Linked DNA regions of Homo sapiens: region 1 is linked to region 2. Evidence: promoter capture Hi-C in human tissues and cell types (Jung and others, 2019). All regions are on one chromosome and are shown on one strand. The core of a region is centred on a gene start or on the middle of the fragment in contact, and the rest is flanking DNA. Distances in the headings are between cores, read along the strand shown. Region 1 overlaps HDAC4 (histone deacetylase 4). Region 2 holds the start of CAPN10 (calpain 10).

Region 1 (4,619 bases), core at 426-2,925, 1.2 Mb after region 2:
TTGAGCCCAGGAGTTCAAGACCAGCCTGGGCAACATAGTGAGACCCTCATCTCTACAAAAAAAAAAAAAAAATCAGGCATGACGTCGTGTGCCTGTAGTCCCCATTACTTGGGAGGCTGTGGCAGGAGAATCACGTGAGCCTGGAAAGTCAAGGTTGCAGTGAGGTGTGATTTTGCCACTGCACTTCAGCCTGAGTGACACAGCGAGACCCTGGGCTGTCCCCCCCAAAAAAGTTTATATATGTAATGTATAAACATAAAATAGTGATTACCGAATTGCTCTCTAGAAAAGTCTTAAGTGTCAAAATCTTAAATGCCATTCTCCTTGTCCCCACAGTTCTACATTTTGAAATCTATTCTAAGGAAAGAAGATAAGTGTGTAGATATCCAGACGTGTGTGGAGGTCGGGGCTGCATTATTTATAAAAGGAGTACTTGTTAAACCTGCTGGCATTTCTGCACTGTGGCATCCTCCATGTGTAGACAGGCAGAAGTGTGCAGTGTAAGAGGGAAAGGCGGGGTCTGGAGCAGTCCCCGGGCCACTCCTGGTTTTAAGTACATGGGTCTCTAAGGTAACCATCAGAGGTGAGGAGACGGGGTACACTTTTCTTTTATACATGGTGGTATTGTAGAGATTCTTTTGGTAAGCGTGTATTACTTTTTTACAGTAGTAATTTGAAAACATTTAGATATCTTCATTGGAAAGAAAAGTACTCTTTAAGTCCTTGGCAAGTTGATAAATATGCTTTGCAATAGAAGAATTTAGGGGCATTTGTTTTTCTAACTCACATGTAAGCTCTTCAAGGTGGGGACTGACCCTCGGGGTCTGAGCGGGCTCTGCTACAGCCCATCCTACAAACAGTCTCCCAGGTTTCCACCAGAAGCAGGTTTGTACCTCTCATTCCCTTGCTTGAAACCCTGGCATGACTTTCCTGTATTCTTAGGATCCTAAGGTCTCAGGGCCCTGGAAGGCCTGCCTGATCCTGGCCTCTGTTTTACCAGCCTCATCTGATAGCACTTGCTGTGTTTGTGGAGTTTCAGCTGCCACCTGCTTTACTTTCTAGCTCTCTCTAAGTCCCCTTTGACCTCGGGGCCTTTGCACACACTGTTCCCCTTCCTTGGAATGGCCTCCCTTTACCTTCCTCTTCTCCAGCCCCTCAGTTCATGCTCATCCTCTCATCCTTTGATCCCCTGTTAAACTTAGCCTAATAGCTTTTTTCCTCCTTTCTAACAGCATCCCATTGTGCAATTTCAGGAAGGAGCTCATTGTGACCTTAGTTGTTTAATGCCACCTTTTCTACTAGCTGGGGCTCTGTAGGATTGAGGGGCCCTGAGGGCCTCATGCCTGCTCTGTACCCTGTGCTTGGCAGTGTAGGTGCTCGAAGAATGAAAGAAAATGAATGAGTGAATGAATGAATGGATGAGTAGGTAGCCCAGTGAATGGCACAATGCGGGCCTTGGGTGGGAGAGCTGGGGTGAGGCCCCACCTCTGGCCTGGCCCCTCTGCGGGGTTCTTGCCAGTGCTCTGGAATTGCCTGTTTCCTGACACCCCCTGCCCCCATCTGGGAACTTCTTGGTCCTGATTTTGGAGATTACATGCTCCTAAGGAGATGTCATAAATGCAAGTGGAGGGAATTCTGTGATGCAGAAAGGAATGGGAGGGAGAAGGGCCTTCAACACAGCTGTCGAGTGGCAAATGCGACTGTTGTGCCAAGGCCAAGGCAGGTGTGTGCAGCTTGTTCTCCAGCCGCTTCGCCCAGGGCCCCGGCGTGTGAGGAGGCGAGTGGTGCTTTTATGAAGAAGTTTTTCTCTGCTTGTTTTAAATTAGAATTAATGACATTATTTAATCACTTCTTATTTAGCGTCATAATTTTAATATGATACATTAATATGTTTGTGTACATAAACATTTTGGAGTCTGCTCTGTTTAAAAATGTGAGTGTTGGGCTTTGTGAGTTTACTGTTGTTTATGAAGTACTCCGTCTGTGTGAGTCAAGTGCTTTTGCTGGATTGATGTTTAAGCTTGAAACAATAAATCAGTTCTTAGGACCTGAAAGTCTGAACCAGCATTCCAAGTGGGAGTATTGTTCAAGCGGTGATGGAATTGCATTTTCCCTTGGGAATGGCCCATCATCTGGTTTATGTGTTGCTATTTGCTGGAGCGGTTCTTTTTTAAACTGAGGAAGAGAAGTTTCTGTGGTATCTCCACTGGCCTCCCTGGTGGTGGGGTTGGGGGTGGAGGGGGGGTGGTCCTTGGGGGCCATGTTCCCTGAATATTTCTAATTGATTAGTTATTATTTTGCAAATACTCATTTTACACCCCAGCCCAAGTACTAGGTTTTACATGAGATGAGACTCAGTTGAACACATTCTCTGTGCCAGACGCAGTGGCCAGCCCCATGACCCCAGGCTTGATCAGGAAAACTGGCCTCTGCCCACAAGAGGCTTTGGTGTTGGTAGGGACAGAGGAGAAAAAGGAGCTAAACAGGCAGGTGCACACGGGTCACCATCCTGAGAACCAGGGCTGTGGCTGGAGGGCTTGCTTGGTAGGGAGAGCCGTGGTGCAGGAGCCAGGCCCAGATGAGGAGGAGGAAGGGGAGGCTGGGTGGGTGGGAATGGGGTGTGGTCCTTTTTAGCCAGAGCCAGAGTTTCGGGGCTGCATTGTGAAAAGGGCATTGTGGCCAGATGGTGGCCTGGTGACTGAGGTCTCTGAGGCCAGAGTGCGTGAGCCAGTGATGAGCCGGGCCAACTGGCAGGCTGCCTGGGTGGGGTGGAGGTGTGGTCTGCACAAAGGACTTCCTTGCGTTTTCATGTATGTGTAGTCTTCTTGCATTTAATGGAGAGTTTGCTTCTGTTCTTTCTATTTTGTGCACTGGTGCCTGGCTCCAGCTGGGTGATGGACCTGATCTCTCTTGTTCTAACTTTGTGGAGGCAGGCCCATTCAGATGCATCCCAAGGAGGCCTCCAGGTGGTCCATGGCGCGGCTAGGCCCTCCTTGGGGCACATGCTTGGTGGTGCTGTTGTGGGGACTTCTGCATGAAAAGCAAGGGCAGCTTCCAAAACAAGGGCAAGGTGAAGAAGGTGGCTCACACGCCGGGGGTCCCAGTCCTGTGGCTCTGAGACGGGCCGCATCCAGAAGGGAGGGGGTTCCTTCCTTCTAGCAGTGCTGGCGAGAGCTTCCTCTGTGCCTAGGTCCAGGATTCTGTAGAGTAGCTGTCAGGACTGAAGCCTGCCAGGAGTCTGTGTAGAAACCGTGCTGGAGGGGACCCGCTGGGGGACCCGAGCTGGCACCCCCAGTGCCACCGGTTTACACACCAGAATTCCGGGTCTGAGGCTGAGCCCAGCCTGGCCCATCTGCAGGGGCCTTGCTGGCTGGCACCGTGCCATGTAAGTCAAGTGGCAGAAAGTGGGCCCCCAGCAGGTCAGCAGAGCGTGGCCAAGGGCCCCTGAGCCTCAGTCCTCCCTGTGGCCTGGGGCTAATCCCAGCTGGCTATTGAGGACTTACCCACCCCCAGGACTCATGTCCGAGCCCCGTAAGCTCAGGGGTTAGAGTGTTCTAAGGAGGCTGACCCCCATTCCACCTCTGGGGGCTGTGGACAAGGAGGGGAAGATGGCCTGTGGGTCCACACAAGCGGGGTGTATCTTAATTAGTGATGCCAACTGTGCCTCCTTGCTTGCAGGATGTGGGTGGCCCTCTGACCTTTTGGACCTTTAAAGTGAGCCATAAAGAAAACCATTGGGAGGTTCTGGCATATTAAAACCCCCTCTACTATAAAATTTACATCAGATTTTGCACTGAAAAAATCCTCATAGGTGGTCACAGTCCCCATTCTTTGGAGAACACTTGTTTGCCAGCTCAAGGGCTCTGTGTTGGAATCCGCCCCTTGGCTCTCCAGGTCAGAAGGATGCATCAAAGGAGATGTCACTGGGGTGCCTGTGTCTTCTCGCCTTTCGAGTGCCTGCCCTGAAGCAGCTTGCTTTCCTTTGCCCCTGAGTGTGCAGCACAGCCCAGCGTAGCTCGGTTGCTGGCTGGGGCAGCAGCTGACCTGCAGAGCCGTTACGTGCATGCCCGCTGCCATCCGAGGGTAGCAGCCGGGCTGGGCCATCCCACCCCTGCCCGGCATGGTGGCCCGGGCAGGATGGGGCCTGGTGTGGGAGCATCCAACTCACCTCCCAAGCTGGTGGGGATGTTGACCTTTTGGGCTTCGGAGTTCACAACCAACCATGTGCAGTGCTTCCCGCGGTCCCTCCCTGAAGAAGAGTGTCTTTCCATGTCAGCGTGCCAGCTTCAGCACACGCGGGCTGCGTTCTGACGAAGTTCTGTTTTCAGAATTCTTCTGGTTAAGCGGAGGCCAGAGCTGAGGCACGTGGGAGCTGCGGAGGGCCTCTTCTCTTGTTTCACGTATCCTTCTCCTGGTTCCTCGGTGCTCTCGTGGGTGTGGGGTGAAGGGTCTGATTGGTGGATGTGCTCTCTCCTGCTCGTCACACTGCCAATGTGCCTGCAGTGGACAAGAGTGATTTGCAGTGATGTCCTGTGTTCCATGGCTCTGGGGTGTTGAGTGAGCATCGGTTGAGATCCCAGCTTCACTGTCATGACCCCATCACCTCAGTGAGTCCTTTG
Region 2 (4,149 bases), core at 1,140-3,639:
CTGGAAAAATCCCAAACTCTAGCAAGCTCCTTCTCAAAACAGCTAAATGTTGGCTTCGAAAAGTTTCACTTTTTACTCATGCTGGTAAATCTCAAATGTGTCCTCCATCCTGCTGGAAATCTGTTTCTCTAGCAGGCTCCATTTCCCACACCCCCTAACTATCATATACCTTCCCCTTTCTCCCCGTCTACTCAAAACATCCACACTGCCCTTGCCCACCCCTCTGAGCTTCGACCTTGCCTCCTGCTTCTGGACCTGACCCTCTCTCCTGCCCTCAGAGCCTGGGCTCCTCTCACAACTCCTTCCCTTCCAGCTCCCCGGGCAGAATCCCACCCCCATGTTCTTTAAGACATTATCTCTCAGCACCATAGTCTCCTTCAGGCTTCTCTTCATTACAGCTCTTGAAAGAGCTGCCATGCCCACTACCTGCTTCCCATTCACTCTCCACACAGGCTCCTCTAGCTTCTGAGCCAATCATGGCCCCTAAACTGCCTCGATCAATGTCGCTGTCACCTCTATGTTATCAAACCCACTGGGCTTCTCTTGGTCCCAACTCTCTTCCCCAACTACTCAGCAGCATTCACAACAGCAGAACAGCCATCTGCTGCCCCTGAGGTGGTCCCCACTCAGCTTCTGTGAGGCCGCATGCTCCCCGGGTGTCCTCTCCCTCACTGCCTGCTGCTTCTCAAGTCTATCTGTCAGGGCACCTGCCTGACCCCAAGAAATGTTAGGGTTCCTCAAGGCTCAGCCCCAAGGCCCCCTTCTTCTTTACTGATACTCCCCCGAGACACTCTCCCAGGCTGTGGACTGTAAACCATCTAATATGCTCCGCCTCCCAGAAGAATGCCTCTAGCCTATCCCTGCTCCGTATCCACCTGCCTCCAGGACAGATCCACCTGCCTCCAGGACAGCTCCACCTGAAGACGTGAGAGCAAAGCCCAACTCTAGGTCACCCCCAGGCTCTGTCCCAGGACCACCATCCACCCACCTGTTCAGGCCAGAAACCCAGAAGGCATGTTGATCCCTCCACTATCCTCACCCTCTATTTCAATCAGTCACTATGGCCTCTCGATCCCCCCTGCAAGGTACGTCTCAAACCAATCTACTCCAAACCCACATCCTAACAGTCGTCAAGCTAATCTGAGCCCCTTCATCTTTCTCCAGGACCACTACAATGGACCCTTGCATTCTTGCCCCGACAACCCACTTCCCACCCAGCAGCAAGAGTGAGCTTGTAAAAACACACATCCAAGAGAACCACTCCTCTACCAAAACCCTCTAGTGGCCTCCAGCTGCACCTAAAATCAATCTTTTAACAAAATAAAACCCAAATTCCAATGACAAGGCTCTACATGGTCTGACCCTTGCCTCCTCCCAGGCCCTTCAGTGTTGTCCAAGGAAACCAGGTGGCCTGTCAAAGCCATCTCAGTCACGAGAGCCCAGAAGTTCCAGCTCTGTTCGAAGACTGGCGGCCATCAGTTGTCTCCGCTAAGACCGCATCCACTTAGGGCAAGGTTGCTCCCTGGGCAGTCTTATTCAGCAGATAAACCATTTCTAAAAATATGAACACAGCACTCGGCCAGGGCATCCCTTGGAGGTGCCATTTCTAGGTGTTACAACTGGAAAGGCAGGTGCACAAAATCCAAAACTGAAATTCTATCACGCTTTGCTTTGTGGGCTCGGCCTAGCCACTTCAGAGGGGCACGAGCGGCCCTCTCTGCGGGAGGAGCAGACACAAACGCTCTTCAGGGCGAAAGCAAACAGGTGGGGCGGGGTTTGGGGCTCTGTTAAAACGCCTCTCGCAGCGCTCTGAGCCTCCTGGATTGGAGCTCTCGCAGGCGGAGGCCACGACCTAGTTTAGCGTCCTTAGGGTAGCGCCGAGTCCTGCTCGTTCTGGGCGGGGGTATGAAGGAGGTACGAAAAGAGGGGGCCGGGCGCCCACTTCTGAGGAGAACAACGGCGGACCCTGCGTTCGGAGCTACCCTGGCCGCCCACCCCGCCCCGCTCCCTGCGAGGAGCGGAGATCTCAGAAACCAGAAACGGCGCCCACCGCACCCCACACGGCCCCACCTGGGGCCGCCTCCACGTGATGTCCTCGCGGAACTGGGCCAGCGGCGTAGACAAGTCGCAGAAGAGCGAGGAGTCCGCGGCGGGGAAGGCGGCGTCCCGGAACAGCTCCCTCGCCGGCGTCGCGCCCCGGCCCGCCCGCATCCTCGGCTCCGCGGGCTCCCATCTGCAGCCGGTTGCCTCGGGGTCGCAGCCCCGGAGAGAAGGCGAGTCAGCCGCCGCCGCCTCCGGCCCGCCCCGCCCGTTCCCCGCCCGGCCCAGCCCTCCAAGCCCGAGGGCCCCGCAGGTGCTGGACCAGGCCAGTACGCCGGCCCGCTAGTCTCCCATTGGTAACCAGGCGGCAGCCAACCGGGCGTGGGGTCTCGGGTCACGTGACAGGCGGCCCAATCGCACTCGCGCGACGGAAAGCGCCACGGACGTCGGAGGCCCAGGGGGCGGGGCTCCCGAGCTCCGCTCTTTCGTGGTCGGGCGGCGGACCGCACTGTATTTTTTCCTTCCGGGGGCGGCGGAGCCCAGGGCTATCCCGGCCTCCGCTCATACCCGGAGGGCCGGCAGGCGTTCAGTCCTCCAGCCGGTGAGGCTCGGGCCGGGGTGTCGGGACCGCCTGAACACGCGGGCTCTGGGAGCTTCAGGGACCAGGGAGCCACCTCGGCCGAGTTGCGTCGCAGACTACAGCTCCCAGCATGCGCCGCCGCTCCCAGCATGCACCTTCCTCCCGAAACGCGTCTCTGCTTCCGGCGCTCTGCTGCGGAGGCCGTGGCCGCGGGTAGTTGGGAGGAACCGAGATTTACGCTTGGTAAGGCAAGTTGCGAGCTGTCCGGCGCCGGTCGAGTTCCTGCCGCCGTCGTCGTCAGGCAGGGGAGAAGGGGGCCTCAACCCCTCTAGTGACAGCTGTTTGCTACCTAATAGGGCTTTTCATCCCACCGGGCCCCAGGGCCTTCGTTAGGAGCCCAGCAGGCTCAACTTCTTGCTGTGGTTCTGGAAAAGGGAGTGACCACCTGGCTCAACACCTCTCTCTGTGATGTGTTTGGGAGTTTTGGGAAATGAGACGGCTCCGAGGGAAGAGCTTGAGGGAGCGGCGTCGCACTCGTTCGACCTTCCCGGGCCTGGGCTTTGTTTCTAGGCATTTTAGGTTGAACGCTCTACATCTTAACTGGGGGCAGGGGAGGTGGCCAGAGCATCCCGCTGAGCGTTTTCCGATTCCCCAGATGGCCAGGCACCTGGTCCTGGTGGCTGGACAGTGACCCCGTGGACGCACATTTACAGCTATAGCCATTCAGTGCCGCGGGGAGGTGAGGATAGTGATCCTGGGACCTGCTCGAGGATTCACCCTTGCCCCAAGAACCTGTTCCATTCCCAGGAATGAAGGCGGTCAGGCAGGGGAGGAGAAGGGGGCCTCAACTCTTCTAGTGACAGCAGTTTGCCACCTAATAGAGCTTTTCAGATTTTGCCTCCTCAGGCCATTTTACTCAGCCTCGGACTATCAAGGATGGTCACATTGAAGCTGTTTTTCTGCAGTCAGGAGCGAAAAGTCCCGGCTGTTGAAGGAGAAACTGAATCTGGTTCAGGAGTCCCAGGTTCCTCCCTCTGAGAGGCCAGGTGGGGCCTGCGTGAGTAGCAGTTGTTCAGGTGGCAGGACACTGCTGTTTTCATCCCACCTGGCCCCAGGCCCCTGATTAGGGGCCCAGAGTGCTTATGTACTTGCCTCGGTCTGAGAAAGGGAGTGACTGCATAGCCCAACACCTGTGGGATGCCTCACTGCCCAGATGTTTCATCTCCGGGATGCTTCATTGCCCATTCAGCACCCTCTATGGTGCTGACTCTTCCGGAAGATGTTTCTGATTCCTTGCTAGGCTGGTGGTTGCACCATAGCTGAGAGGACTCAAGAAGAGCCTGGTCTCAGCTTCACCTAGGAGTCCCGGAGGAGTAAGAAACACGTATCTTTCCTGTTCTGGGCACATATGGGTGGGTAGCAGAGCTGAGGCTAGCTGAGGATCCCGACTCTCCTTTGGGAGCCTTTGTTGTGCCGCTCTCCCAGGCTGATCAGATCTGGAGAGCTAACAGCTTCCTGTGGCCACATCT

Evidence for each region. Contacts are between HindIII fragments. The study calls those that stand out against the background at their distance.
Region 1: a contact is called between a fragment that was not itself captured here and the fragment with the promoter of CAPN10 in region 2, in 1 of the 25 tissues and cell types used here (spleen).

Annotation. Positions count from the first base shown.
Region 1 is chr2:239,391,593-239,396,211 of GRCh38, reverse strand. All of the region lies in intron 1 of HDAC4 (histone deacetylase 4), which reads left to right. Among named protein-coding and RNA genes, the nearest start is that of HDAC4, 7.1 kb to the left of the region's middle. The HindIII fragment of the contact is 5,599 bases long and covers 1-4,474 here.
Region 2 is chr2:240,584,974-240,589,122 of GRCh38, reverse strand. CAPN10 (calpain 10) reads right to left here and starts at 2,389. Exons shown (of 12, transcript NM_023083.4): 1 at 2,071-2,389. The coding sequence starts at 2,211. CAPN10-DT (CAPN10 divergent transcript) reads left to right here and starts at 2,807. Exons shown (of 1, transcript NR_103792.1): 1 at 2,807-4,149. RefSeq lists a silencer at 2,123-2,352 and enhancers at 1,552-2,378, 2,317-2,611, 2,663-2,842, 3,833-4,149. The HindIII fragment of the contact is 9,208 bases long and covers 1-2,742 here.